Regions from separate parts of the Homo sapiens genome. Here all the other regions are linked to region 3. Evidence: promoter capture Hi-C in 16 types of primary human blood cells and fetal thymus (Javierre and others, 2016). All regions are on one chromosome and are shown on one strand. The core of a region is centred on a gene start or on the middle of the fragment in contact, and the rest is flanking DNA. Distances in the headings are between cores, read along the strand shown.

Region 1 (2,733 bases), core at 32-2,531, 93 kb before region 3:
GCTGGGGGGATGGAGGAAGAGCTGCCCATGTGCAGTCACCATTGCTCAGTGACAGAGCCTCAAAGCTTGGCCAGGGCTGAAGGTACCACATGGGTGTGGGTGAGGCAGGCTAAGTTGGATGGCTGCAGTGCCCAGCTATCATATGTTATCTTTTTTCTAAAATATTCAAAATTATGTATAAAAATTCAAAGACAAAATACAAATTATAATTAGCAATTACCAAATTTTAAGTAAATTTATTATAATAAAGTTTAAACTTTAATGTGATTTTTAAAAAAACTAAGTCCTATTATGTATTTTTACAAAAACAGAACTACTCACAATTCTAGAGTTCAAGGCTCATCCACGGCCAATGTCCAGAATATCAGGACCTTCATATATAAAATTTAAGAGTAATATGAGTTGTTTAACATTGCAAAATATTCCTCAACTGCCATGAGCCACTGTTACAAATATCATCCTAATTTATATCTCCAGAACTACATACTGGAATACAAAGAGAAACAAGAAAATGGATGCTCAGCAGCCCTGGGAAATGATACCTCAGTGTGCAAGAATCTACTCCATTTGTGCTAATTAATTTGTCTTTTCCCTCACCTAAGAACTTCTGTCACTCAAATCCTCCCCATACTCCAAAGCAGTGTCCATAACCAGCATCAACAGCCCATAACCTTCACGGCATTCACACAGAATCACTTTTTGCTTCAATGGCAGACGGGAAGAGATGGAGGAAAGTGTTATCTGGAGCCTGAATGGTGTTAGTCACTACAGTGGACATTTGGATTACAAATCGTACTATGCCACTTAGTGCTGGATCTTAAATGACACTTATGTTTTAAACATTTGTGATATGTGCATCCTTTAAGTATAAGATCCAAAGTAGGGGGCCCTGTCACCCAGGTCTTAAGGTGATACTCTAAACTTTAGGGAATATTTCATCCAGGATCTACTGAAATCTAAGAAAAAAAAATTTGAGCAGATTGATAACAGCTTTTCTTTTTTAAATGTATATAATGAGAGAGCTGTTAACAAAGTCAAAAGAGTTATTGACAGAAGTAAAGATGGCTGTAGTGGGGGAGAAAAAAAAACAGGAAACCTTTCTCTACCAAGTTTCTGCAATAATTGACTAATTATAACATGGATGACTGGGAGTTTAGAACCTACTACTCGTATTTTTCAATCTTAACTTTCCCTAATATGGTAAAAACATGGCTTCAGAAAATCATCTCATGTCTTAATTCATGCTTACAAAGGTATATCAGATTAAAGGCAATAAAACGTATTTTATAACTAAAAATAAAACACACGATATAATGAGAGAGCAGAAATCAATGGTACAAGGGCTCTGGAGAGATAAGAAAAGTCAGATGCTCAGTTCTTTCTTTGGATACTTTTATCAACCAAACTGCCTGCTGTATAAGATTACTGGCCTATAAATTAACTTTTGCAATTAAAGCAGTGAATTTTAACTTGAGGCAAACAGAACCCTATTGTTCACTAAGTTTTATCACCAACGATTACAGGACAGAGAGATCTATATCTCCAACACTGTATGCTTAAAAAGAAACAAAACTTGTTTTTCAATTATGAAAGTAATATATGTTCATTATAAAAAACTTGAAAAACTACAAAAATATAAAACAGTATAAAGTATGAAAGTCACCCATAATCCTAACCCTAAACTATTAACATTGTTATATTTCCCTTATTGTGTATACTGCTCTGCATATTTGAGATCATACTGTGAATCATGATTTTATACCATCCATTTTTCATTTAACTTTATATCATAAACATTTCTCATATTTTATTATTTCTAAATATCATTTGCAAGGGCTGCATAAGTCATGTGCAGACTTAGAGTACCCTCTAATTTGCTTAACCATTCCCCTAATGTTGGAGGTTTAGGATGATCTTTGGTTTCTTACTACTATAATCACACTGTGATGAATATCTTTATTTATAAATCTTTATCTGCATTTCCTAGTATTTCCTTAGGGTACAGCTAGACTATGGAAACCAAGGAAATAAGTATTTTTTAAATATCTTGAATGTTTGTCCCCAGTTTTTTCTAATAAGGTATTCTACATTATATGTCCACCAATAATGTATAAGGTGCCCTTTTCACCCTCCATTATCAATATATCAGGTATTCATGACTTTTTTCCAGTATTTGATTAACTGATAAATGAAAATAATTCATTGCTGTTTTGTTTTCTATTTCTCTGACTACTAGTGAAACAGAACCTTTTTTTGCAAATATTTGTTAGTCTTTATTTGCCCTTCTGTTAATTGTCCATACATACTAACAGATACTAATCTATTTTCTTGGTGATTCATATATATGCTTCATAAAGAAAAATACTGTCTTTTGCATCATATTTCTTATAATTATTTCCATTTTTGTGTCTTAACTTATATATTGATTTTTTTCAAGAAAGTTTAAAAATTTTTAAATAGGCATCTCAACTTTTCCCCTTGTATTTTATTTTGAGTTTAAGCTTATTCATTTATTCATTCATTCAACAAATATTCACCAAAGACTTGCTATGTGCCAGAAACTATGCAGGAACACTAAAGATACAGCAGTAAATAAGACGTATTTTTAGCCTTCAAAGAGTTTCCATTTGGCCAGGCAAGATGGCTCATACACCTGTAATGCCAGTGCCTCAGGAGGCCAATTCGGGAGGACTGCTTGAGACCAAGAGTTTGAGACCAGCCTGGCCAACATGG
Region 2 (2,796 bases), core at 273-2,772, 130 kb after region 3:
ACACACCTGTAGTCCCTGCTACTCAGGAGGCTGAAGCATGAGAATCACTTGAACCTGGGAGGCAGAGGTTGCAGTGGGCCAAGATGGTCCCACTGCACTCCAGCCTGGGTGACAGAGCAAGACTCTGTCTCAAAGAATAAAAGAAACAAACAAAATTATCTACAGTAAATGAAGAGAGGAAACTTTGTTCAGAGATCTAGACACCTTCCCAAAATAACTAAATGAATGAATGATCAGATGATATTACAACATAAATGCAAATATCACCCCAAATACTACCATACCTAGCTGCACAGCTATTAAAGAAACGGGTGTATATGTGCACACATACATACACATGCTAATGATTATCTATGTATAAGTGGAAAATAGAAGAAAACAGTGAATTTCTCATATTAAACATGAAAGCACTTATTGACCATAAGCATTTTTGCTTTTTTTTGCACATCTCTTTTGCAAATTTTTGCATATCTTAAATTCCTTCACAAGTGAATGTTAGCATAAGAATAAGTAACAAGATGCGTATTGTAATTCCATGAATATCAACACAGTACATGGTGCTGTCATAATTTTAAATGAAAACCAGGCCATGGCTAAGACTGAAACTTTTTCAAATAGGGTAAATGCGCAATTTTTGAAAGAAAAGAAGGGGTAGGATTGGTTTACAATTTATGACCAGAAAGTTGTGTCTTTGAAGAGGAACTTAGTTGTCCCAACAGTACATGATGCTGTCATAATTTTAAATGAAAACCAGGCCAGGTACAATGGCTCACTCCTATAATCCCAGTGCTTTGGGAAACTGAGACAGTTTGGGAAACTGAGACAGGAGGATCACTTGAGCTCAGGAGTTCAAGACCTGCTTGGGCAACATAGCAAGATCTTGTCTCTACAAAACATAAAAAATTTTAAAAAATTAGCCAGGCATGGTGGTGCGCGCCTGTAGTCCCAGCTACTCAAGAGGCTGAGGCGAGAGGATCACTTGAGCCCTGGAGATCAAGACTGTAGTGAACTAGGATCACACCACTGCACTCCAGCCTGGGCGACAGAGCAAGGACATTTCAAAAAAACAACAACAACGAATAAATGAAAACCAACTGAAATGACAATCCTAGTGAAAAATAAATAGCTTCTGATAGATTCTACCAGTGAGTCAATGACTTTGCTTCCATTAAATCTCACTGCAATTATTAATTTATAAATTTTCATTCAGGACTGAAAGATTATCTGACTCTTGGAACTTTAAATATGTGTCTGCAATTCAGCTAACAGAGGGAACATGGAAACCTATCACTATAAAGAGAATGGCTCTAGAGTTATTTTAAAAGGCTCAAAAAACCTTTACCATATTGGTTTCGGTTCATATTTAATAAATGCAAAATGCTTATTATGTGTCTCAACATAAACATTTGAAAAAATTCCTGTAATAATAAAATGGATTCAAAAATTCAAAACAAAAAAGCGTAATTTTGGGGGGAGAAAAATTAAAGTGATGCATTGAAAAAAGGGTAGCCTTACTAATAACATTTCGTTTTAAAACCTGTTTTTTGATCCAGATTATAGAGTAAAAGAACAGAACTGAATCAGGTTACCCCTTCCTGAATATAGCAAGTTCAAAGTAAGCCTTATGATTTAGCTGTACAGAAAACATGTGTAAGAGGGTCACAGAACGTCTTTGCATTGACCTTTATACATAAATCAAAGACATCCAACTAACTTAGGCTCACAGTTTAAAATTTAAGAAAAAGACGGATAAACACTTTCGAAAGAAAATATACCTTCTCTGACAACATAATACTTAAGGATATATACACACATATTATAGAATGCCCAGCTGTGATAGAGATAGGCATAAAGGAAGTAGTTATAATTTCTTAGCATAACTGAATTTCTTTAGAAGCCCCGATTCAAAAAATAAATGAACTCCATAATACCAAAAAAGCCTGAAAGGGTAATTTTAAAATTCAAGAAATATATAACTCTATATGCCAACTTTACACATTTTCCTATATAATGAAGCATGTCCCTCCATTACATATACATGAATACCATTTGGCTCTAGGAACAGAAGCATTTCCTCACTTCTTGGTTCTTTGACCTTTCTGCTGCCTCTACCATTATTTTTCCTGTTCCTGTTCCACTCTAGCTAAGCACTACTTTTTAGTCACCACCAAAAAAACCTAACAAAGATACATCTTTTTTTGTTTCTTTAGCTTAGAGTCTAATGTTCAATTTGATATTCATTTCCTTTAGCTAAGTGTTCAAGAACAAGTTTTAGGTATATTCAAAGCCTAGAATCAAAGTTGTCTTCTTCCTTTTGCTAGGAAATTCTATCAAACCAGGGATAAGTAACCCTAATAGTGGTAATATCACCACTAAGCAACACCTTTGGCTACTATTGGACATTGTGCCACCACACACATTACCTTACATAAATTTCTCTTCTTTCTTTTTGATGACCCCTCCTACTCCTTGTTCTTGTCTCCTCCCTTTCCTCTTCTTCACCCTGTTTCTTAGGCTAATAAAACCAATCACAAAAAGTAAATAGTACTAGAGGGATCCCGGAAGTTGCCTTTCCTATGACAAGATCATACAACCCCAAAAAGCAAATGAGAAAATAACAAATTAATCTCTAAAATACTATACTTACTGTTTACATGTCAAGATTTCTAAAAGGTAAAGACTAGGAAATTAACAACAAATGACCAATTGATAAGTATCAAATTATGTTACCTTGAGAAAGCTGCATCAAGTGAATATGTAAACTGCCAGGGATAACAGGTTCAGGAAGTTCTTGAA
Region 3 (2,700 bases), core at 1-2,500:
AGCTGCTGGGAGAGGTTGAGCTGGGGATCCCTTAAGATCAGGAGTTTGAGGCCAGACTGGGAAATATAGCGAGACTCCATCTCTAAAAAAAAAAAAATTATGTAAATTTGATTACCTATATATGGGTGTTTTTCCTCTAATAATTTCAATTTCAGATAATCTGTTACTTTAGAAAGCATAATTTTGTGAACAGCTGAGAGTCCCAGTACAGGAAAGCCCAAATCCTTTTGTTAAAACTATTCTAAAGCTTTTTTTCCTCTCGGGCTTCTAGTTCACTGGCTGTCAGCCTTTTGCGAGGCCTCTCCTGTTCCTCTCATCGATGGTAGTTTTTGACCCTCACTACTGTGTGGCCGTTTTGCTTTTTATCTACACATAAAACAGCATTTATCGACAGCAGTCTACATCTCTTTCAGGGAAATAACAAAAGTGGCTTTATCTTTTACTTTCAAAACTGGTTAGTGGTTTTCTTTGCAGGTTTCCCTGGGGCCTTTGGACTGGATTCCATTTTATTTTCCTTTTTATCAACACGAGAATCCGTCCTGGTCTTACATCCTGGAGGGCTTTTGGCTGCCTTAATTTACAGCCAAATTAGTTTGGCCTTTTCTATAGCTGGTTTACCAACCTTCTCATCTTTGCAAAGCTTCTGGGTCAGATGTGGGTCTGGGCCCCAGGACTCCTGTGTCGGCCTGACCTTTCACATAATCACTGCAGAGTTTTTCATCTATTTTTACATCACGGGGGCAGGGGAGTGGAAGCTACTTCCAGCAACAGCTCTCGGTTAATAACCAGTTTCTGCAAGTAGCAGCAGCAGCAGCAGCGTAGGGTCACGGTTAGGAATTTGGGCTTGGGCATCCAAGACTTGGCCCCAACTTCCAGTGAATTACTTCATTTCTCAGCTTCTCGGTTTCTTCAGGCCTAAAATGAGGACAAAAATACCTACCTTTCACGGAGGTGGATGTGGAGACTAACAAGGCGATAAATGTTAAAGGTATTCGAGAGAGAGAAGCCCGTGATAATGAATGACTACGATTTTTAAGCCCACAGCCAGGTTATTCCCAGAAGTTGGCCCTCCGCACCAGACCCCAGCAGCCCGCAGCCCGCCTCGGGCGAAAGGCCTCCCGGGCTCCTGCGGCGCAGCCGCGCTGACGACTTGTCGAGTAGCTCGCCGCCCTGGAGGAGCTGGGGGCTCGCGCAGGCGTCAGAGCCGGGCAGCGCGCGCCGCAAGACTAGCGCGCAAGCGCCGCGGCCTCAGGCGAACGAACGGGCGGTGTAGTGCAGGTCCGCCATGGCTGAGGCGTCACGGTGGCACCGAGGCGGTGAGGGGTCCTCTTAAGGAGTGGGAGGGACAGGGGCGATTTGGCAGTTCCAGACACCCTGAAAGGAACTCTGCGGCCCCAAATTCGTTTGAGAGATGTGACTGCCGACACCTTTAGCCCTCACAGCCTCCCCTGGGGAAGCGGAGAGGGACAGATGGTCCCATTGCACAGACGGGAAAACTGAAGCCCTGAGCGAGGTGGCGCTCGCCTCTTGCCGGAGGCTCGAGCTGGGCGTTGTCACCTGTCGAGTGACCGTCGCTAGGCCGGTCTCTAAAGTCCTTGGTTGATCTGGGGAGTCGTGACCTTGACAGAATTCAAGCCGAGGTGTTTTTCCCCTGTCCAGCAGAAACCAGCCTTCCCAAGAAGCTGTATTGAGGGTGGAGAAAACGGTTAGGACAGATGAGAGGTTTTACTTGTTTCGTATTTTGCTTTTTCATCTTAAGACTGGCGAGAAGACATCATGATATAAAATCTGTTAGTGGCCGGGCGCAGTGGCTCAAGCCTGTAATCCCAACACTTTGGGAGGCCGAGGCGGGCGGATCACAAGGTCAAGAGATCGAGACCATCCTGGCCAACATGGTGAAACCCCATCTCTACTAAAAATACGAAAATTAGCTGGGTGTGGTGGCGCGCGCCTGTAGTCCCAGCTACTCGGGAGGCTGAGGCAGGAGAATCGCTTGAACCGGGGAGGCGGAGGCTGCAGTGAGACGAGATCGCGTCACTGAACTCCAGCCTGGCGACAGAGCTAGACTCCGTCTCAAAAAAAAAATCTGTTATTAATAGTATATAGTAAAAAAATTATCCCTGCCTCGTAAAACTAAGAATTGAAAAATAGCCAGAAGCTATTGGAGCTTTCCTCCCCGCAGTGTAAGGACTAAAAGTGGCTGTGGTTTTTCCATTGTTGTCACTTATAAATTACATAATAATGTAAAGAAAAATTTTGTCTTATATCTCACAGGGGCTTCGAAACATAAGTTGCATTACAGAAAGGAAGTAGAAATTACAACCACACTTCAGGAATTGTTACTCTACTTTATTTTTTTAATAAACCTATGTATATGTAAGTACACAGATATAAAGATGCTGTTTGTTTGAACTAAGAAGTTAAAATGTGGAGATGAAAAATAAAACATACAAACTTCAAAACCACAGGCTGTCAGGCTACTAAAACTCAAAATACAGTGACACGTTTAAACATAATCTTAAATTCATTTAGATTCATTTCATTTAGAAATTGACTATTTTCAGTTCTTAAGGGGCAAAATTTTACATCGCAAATGTAAGAAGCTTCCATAGTCAATACTGACTGAATTAGAATTATTCCTTTCATTTGGCAGTTCTGTCTTGAGCATAATTCATCCCTTGGGTTGGCAACTGCAATTTG
Region 4 (2,700 bases), core at 85-2,584, 76 kb before region 3:
AGGGCATCAAATTCTAATATTCCTCCTTCCTCTCACCCACATACATATACCCAATCTCCTCTAATTCCGACTTCCACCCTGAACATGCAGAAGAGATCTCCTGTATATGACTAAATAGTATGGCATTCTTTCCTTGATAAGAGCAATTTCCTTCCATAAAGATGTTTTGTTTTTTCTTTTCAACTTTTCTTGAGCAAATGGTATAACTATCAATAATAGTCTTTCTTGTGTTTATTTTTACCTCAAAAAAGTAGTGAATTAAATGTATTTTTAATGCATGCCTTCACCTTTAAGGGGCTTACATTCTGACAGGTAGGCAAACACAAGTCTATAAGTAGCTACTTCGAGAAGAAGGTATAATGGAAACATAAACCAAGTATTGTGGGTAAAAGTCTTTTATATGAGAGGAAACATGGAAAGACTTCAGAAAATCAGCCTTTATTTCCTCTATTTTTGCAGTGTTTGTGGATAATTCATATCAATTTGGTCTATTGTTGAACAAGCTGGTATATGAAATAAGGTCTTACCTCCCTCTCTCCAGTTGCCAGATGAGCCTTTTAGGAGACTGGACTTTCTTTTTTTTTTTTTTTTTAATTATTATACTTTAAGTTTTAGGGTACATGTGCACATTGTGCAGGTTAGTTACATATGTATGTATACATGTGCCATGCTGGTGCGCTGCACCCACTAACTCGTCATCTAGCGAGCATTGGGAAGGGTATATCTCCCAATGCTATCCCTTCCCCCTCCCCCCACCCCACAGCAGTCCCCAGAGTGTGATGTTCCCCTTCCTGTGTCCATGTGATCTCACTGTTCAATTCCCACCTATGAGTGAGAATATGCGGTGTTTGGTTTTTTGTTCTTGCGATAGTTTACTGAGAATGATGATTTCCAATTTCATCCATGTCCCTACAAAGGACATGAACTCATCATTTTTTATGGCTGCATAGTATTCCATGGTGTATATGTGCCACATTTTCTTAATCCAGTCTATCATTGTTGGACATTTGGGTCGGTTCCAAGTCTTTGCTATTGTGAATAATGCCGCAATAAACATACGTGTGCATGTGTCTTTATAGCAGCATGATTTATAGTCCTTTGGGTGGAGACTGGACTTTCATGTTTGCCAGATAGTCCTGGAAACAGGTTCCCCTAACCAGCACTCCAAAAACCTCCTATCCCCCAACCTCAAATCATTTTGGATTGAGAATAATTTCTCATATCTTTAAAAGCTTCTAGAAAAGAAGACTATTAGTGGAATGAATAAGTGTTTATGCCCTAAAAGAATTAGTAAACTATCCTGAATATGTCTGTCCAGTAAACCAGAGCTGAATGAGAAAATGCTAAAACATTCTTGCAACAAGTCCCCTAAGTTTCTTCTCTGCCTGAACAGCATAGTTCATCAGCCTAATAAACAGAGTCAATCTCTCTTCCTGTAAGCTTTGTTTTTTGTAGAATAATAAATCAAGAAAAATATATTAAGCCCTTACTATATACTTAGCTCTGCATTTGGAATAGAAAAAGTACAAGACACAGCTTTAAAGAATTTACAACCAAGCTGAGGCTTTAAAGCATTTACAATATACCAGGGGAGTAATTCAATGTGTTGGTTTTGAAGTCTTTCCTTCTTTTTTTAATTTACTTTTTTAAATTACAGTATAGGTGACAAAAATTATATATATTTACAGTGAACAATGTGTTTTGATATATGGATAATGTTATGAAATGGTTAAATCAAGCTAATTAACATATCCATCATCTCACATACTTATCACTTTCTGTTGTGAGAACATTTAAGATCTACTCTCTTAGCAATTTTCAAGAATCCAATACATTGCTATTAACTGCAGTCACCATGATAGACAATAGATCTCTTGTACTCATTTCTTCTGTCTGAAATTTGGAAACTTTGACCAGTATCTCCCCAGTTCCACAACCACCCCTCAGCTCCTGGTAACCACCATTCTACTCTCTGTTTCTATGAGTTCGACTTTTTAAGATTCCACATAAAACTAAGATCATGTAGCATTTGTCTTTCTGTGCCCGGCTTATTTCACTTAGCATAATGTCCTCCAGGTTCATCTATACTGTTGCAAATGACAGGATTTCCTTCTTTTTAAAAGCCAAATAGTATACCATTGTATATATATCTGTGTATGTGTCTGTATGTGTGTCACATTTTTTCATTATCCATTCATCCATTGATGGACATTTAGGTTGATTCCATATCTTGGCTATTATGAATAATGCTGCAACGTACATGAGAGTACAGATATCTCCCTGATATGCTGATTTCAATTCCTTTGGATATATACCCACGAATGGTATTGCTGGAGCATATGGTAGTTCTAATTTTAATTTTTTGAGGAACCTCCATACTGTTTTCCATAATGGCTGTACTAATTTACATTCCCATCAACATGTACACAGGGGTTCCAAAGGCTTCTCTTCAGGCTAGGTTGAAAGCTGACTAAAGGAAAGTTAAGGGTAACTGAAGGCAGAGTTAATATCAAAGGAGGACTCAACTTACCTTTATACCCATAAGTGAGAATATATTGAGAGAAGAGGAAGCATCCTAGATGAAGGAAGAAGAGGGGAGTATTTCAAGACTGATTATTTCCAGGAATCCCTAAAATCCTTCCTGAAGCCACCCATGCAATAAATGTGATCATGCAATAAATTGAAGACAGAAGAAGAAGA
Region 5 (2,700 bases), core at 44-2,543, 97 kb after region 3:
TAAATAGCTTTTAAAATAATTTATGGGCCGAAATAATCATTTCCCTTGTAAATGCACACTCTCACATAATAATGACACATCTGTCCTGATCAAATACAAGTCCAGTACTAGACACTACAGTGTCCAACACCTTATCAAGTAAAACAGAAATAGCTTCCTACTGCAGAGTTGTCATCTTACAGTTTAGAATATCCAAAACACTGCAGTTTTTGTTTCAAAGATGATACCACTACCCTCAATAGAACATGTGTTCCCCAGTGGTGAAAATAAGACTATCACCTGAGCAATGGGTATAGGTTTACAGGATCCCTAGCTAAGCTAAGGACAAACTCCAAGAAATCTGCTTACATCCTTTGAAACATTTTCCCACTATTTCTAACACTTAGATACTGATTTTTTCCTTCACATTCTGCCCAAATACTCCCAATAGATCCAGTTGTATACATGCTTTTTTTTTTAATGTTTTTCTTTCTCTTTTCTTTCCCTCTCCCGCCTTTTCCCAGTTGTATGCATTCTAATCATGCCTTCAAAGTACACAAACCAAGGCCATCAAATAGAGCTGCACTGGCTGGCAGTGCCATCCATGGCACGCTTGCAATTGTACTATATGGTATTCCAAAAATAAACATTCCCAGCACTGGTTTTCACATCCATTTACATTTTTCATTTTATATTTGATAGCTATTCTAGTTAGCCCTTTTAAAAACTGTCTTAAAAAAAAAACCACTCCCCAATTATCTTTTTTTTTCCTTTACCTTCCTATGAATCTTCTAGATTTGGGTACATTTTTCTCATCTTCCCCCCCCCAAAAAAAATTGATATATGAAAAACATGAAATCACTGCACCACGGTCTCTGAGGGAGGCACACAGGTATCCTGAAATACAGGACTGAAGTAATAGAAAACAAAGAGAGGCTTTCCTTCATTTAAAGGTAACAGGTCAGATGAAGAGTGGAGTAACATCATGCATTATAAGTACTTTTAACTAATACACATTTAAATACAGGTTGATTATTCCTTGTCGGAAAAGCTTCGGACCAGAAGTGTTTCAGATTTGTTTTGTTTGTTTTCAGATTTTGGAATATTTGCCAGTTAGCAACTGGCTCATAAATTATTTTAAAAGCCATTCATTTGCTTATGAAAATTTTCAGAGAGCATGACAAACAAGGTCCCTCACAACATCCCAAGGAGAGGTGCCAGACTGGCATCCCTAATCTGAAAATCCAAAATCTAAAATGCTCAAATGAGCATTTCTTCTGAGTATCATGTCAGTGCTCAAAGTTTTGGATTTGGGAGCACTTCAGATTTTGGATTTTTGGATTAGGGATGCTCAACCTGTATTAAGAGTTAATCTAACAAAAACATAAGCAGGGGAGAGGCTGGTGGGAAGGGATAACTATTTAAATAGCAAAGGATGATTCTGCCCACCATTTCACTCAATGATTATATGCACTATAGTGATATCAATCTGCTGCCCCTGTAACTGTCTGTCTAGATCACTCTGTTGCAGAGTCTAATTTTTTAAAGTTATTTTTCATACAACATAATTCCTAAAGGTAAGCTTGTTACTTCATTCGATGTTCAGGGGAAAAAAAACAACAAAAAACAAACAAACCTGTATTGGACTTAATAAAACATATATTATGAAAAAAGTGATGAGATATCCAGTGTTAAGTATGGATGTATATACAAGTATATATACAAAGTCACTTTTCACAAACAACTTTCAGAAATCTCCAAGAAAGATGAGATCCTGTTATTTAAGTAGCAATACAGTTTTAAGATAAAACAATTTTATAACATTTAATAAACAACAGTAAAATGTTTCTTACTGGTTATTAGATCCTTCCCCATCACAATGAATACTTTCTGCTTCATTATTACACACCACACTTTGCTGTTGTAAATTCTTAAGATCATGATCTATGCTGCTCTGAAGATCAAAAAGGTGCTGTTCCACAGCTGCTCTAATTGTTCTTTCTAAAATACTACAAAACAACACGTTTTAGTAAGAAGCAGTCACTCTAACTGGATATCTGGTGACACAGACATAAATGCTAAAACCTATGACCAGTAAAACTATTATGGTACTTAAATGGGTAAACCAAAGTGTAAAAAGAAATACATAAAAGGAATACATGATACTGGCTTAAGTTTTAAAAGTAAAATTTACCCAAACAGACAATCATATACAAATCAACCATAATGTCACTATTATTACTGGGATGGGAAAGATCAGTTGTCCCTATAATTCACTCCTCACTACACAGAAAACCACTAAATAAGGCTTTTCAAAGCTATACTTATAAAGCAAAATAACCTACTAACAGCAAAATGAAAGAAACCATGAGTACTGCTCACACTTCTTATGTAAAGTCTACTTTTTTAAAACTTATATTCTATGAACATTTTTCAATTATTTCAGAGGATTCAAAAAAACCATCTGAAGAAAGCTCATCTTTATTTTGTATAGTAATGCAATGGGTTTCTTCTTCATTTGTTCCTATCACAGTACATAAAAAACTAGTTTACTGCCTGTGTACAGTCTTTCCTCTAAAGTGAGCACAAGTACATTATTTTCATTTCTACAGCTTAGTAGTATTTTAAAATCTTAAAAATTTGTCTTCTATAAATATACTACTTACTCTGTAGAGGCTGGTAGGATGCTGATGGGAGATATATGGGTGCTGCAATCAAAGA

What was found. The method cuts DNA at HindIII sites, captures the fragments that hold promoters and counts their contacts. A CHiCAGO score of 5 or more calls a contact.
Region 1: a fragment that was not itself captured here is called in contact with the fragment with the promoter of PKD2L2 in region 3 in 3 of 17 cell types (M2 macrophages, M1 macrophages and naive B cells); the score reaches 9.3 in M2 macrophages.
Region 2: a fragment that was not itself captured here is called in contact with the fragment with the promoter of PKD2L2 in region 3 in 1 of 17 cell types (total B cells); the score reaches 5.9 in total B cells.
Region 4: a fragment that was not itself captured here is called in contact with the fragment with the promoter of PKD2L2 in region 3 in 4 of 17 cell types (M1 macrophages, naive B cells, total B cells and 1 more); the score reaches 6.8 in M1 macrophages.
Region 5: a fragment that was not itself captured here is called in contact with the fragment with the promoter of PKD2L2 in region 3 in 2 of 17 cell types (naive B cells and total B cells); the score reaches 6.5 in naive B cells.

The regions. Positions count from the first base shown.
Region 1 is chr5:137,795,085-137,797,817 of GRCh38, forward strand. No RefSeq gene overlaps it. Among named protein-coding and RNA genes, the nearest start is that of HNRNPA0, 42 kb to the left of the region's middle. The HindIII fragment of the contact is 2,436 bases long and covers 64-2,499 here.
Region 2 is chr5:138,015,572-138,018,367 of GRCh38, forward strand. FAM13B (family with sequence similarity 13 member B) reads right to left here. Exons shown (of 24, transcript NM_001385994.1): 4 at 2,731-2,796. Among named protein-coding and RNA genes, the nearest start is that of FAM13B-AS1, 16 kb to the right of the region's middle. The HindIII fragment of the contact is 4,772 bases long and covers 1-2,796 here.
Region 3 is chr5:137,888,207-137,890,906 of GRCh38, forward strand. It overlaps PKD2L2 (polycystin 2 like 2, transient receptor potential cation channel), which reads left to right and starts at 1,251. Exons shown (of 15, transcript NM_001300921.2): 1 at 1,251-1,316; 2 at 2,275-2,376. The coding sequence starts at 1,286. It overlaps PKD2L2-DT (PKD2L2 divergent transcript), which reads right to left and starts at 1,113. Exons shown (of 4, transcript XR_948815.3): 1 at 941-1,113; 2 at 1-82. The HindIII fragment of the contact is 1,963 bases long and covers 639-2,601 here.
Region 4 is chr5:137,811,803-137,814,502 of GRCh38, forward strand. No RefSeq gene overlaps it. Among named protein-coding and RNA genes, the nearest start is that of MYOT, 55 kb to the right of the region's middle. The HindIII fragment of the contact is 208 bases long and covers 1,231-1,438 here.
Region 5 is chr5:137,985,629-137,988,328 of GRCh38, forward strand. FAM13B (family with sequence similarity 13 member B) reads right to left here. Exons shown (of 24, transcript NM_001385994.1): 8 at 2,646-2,687; 9 at 1,833-1,988. Among named protein-coding and RNA genes, the nearest start is that of FAM13B-AS1, 46 kb to the right of the region's middle. The HindIII fragment of the contact is 531 bases long and covers 1,029-1,559 here.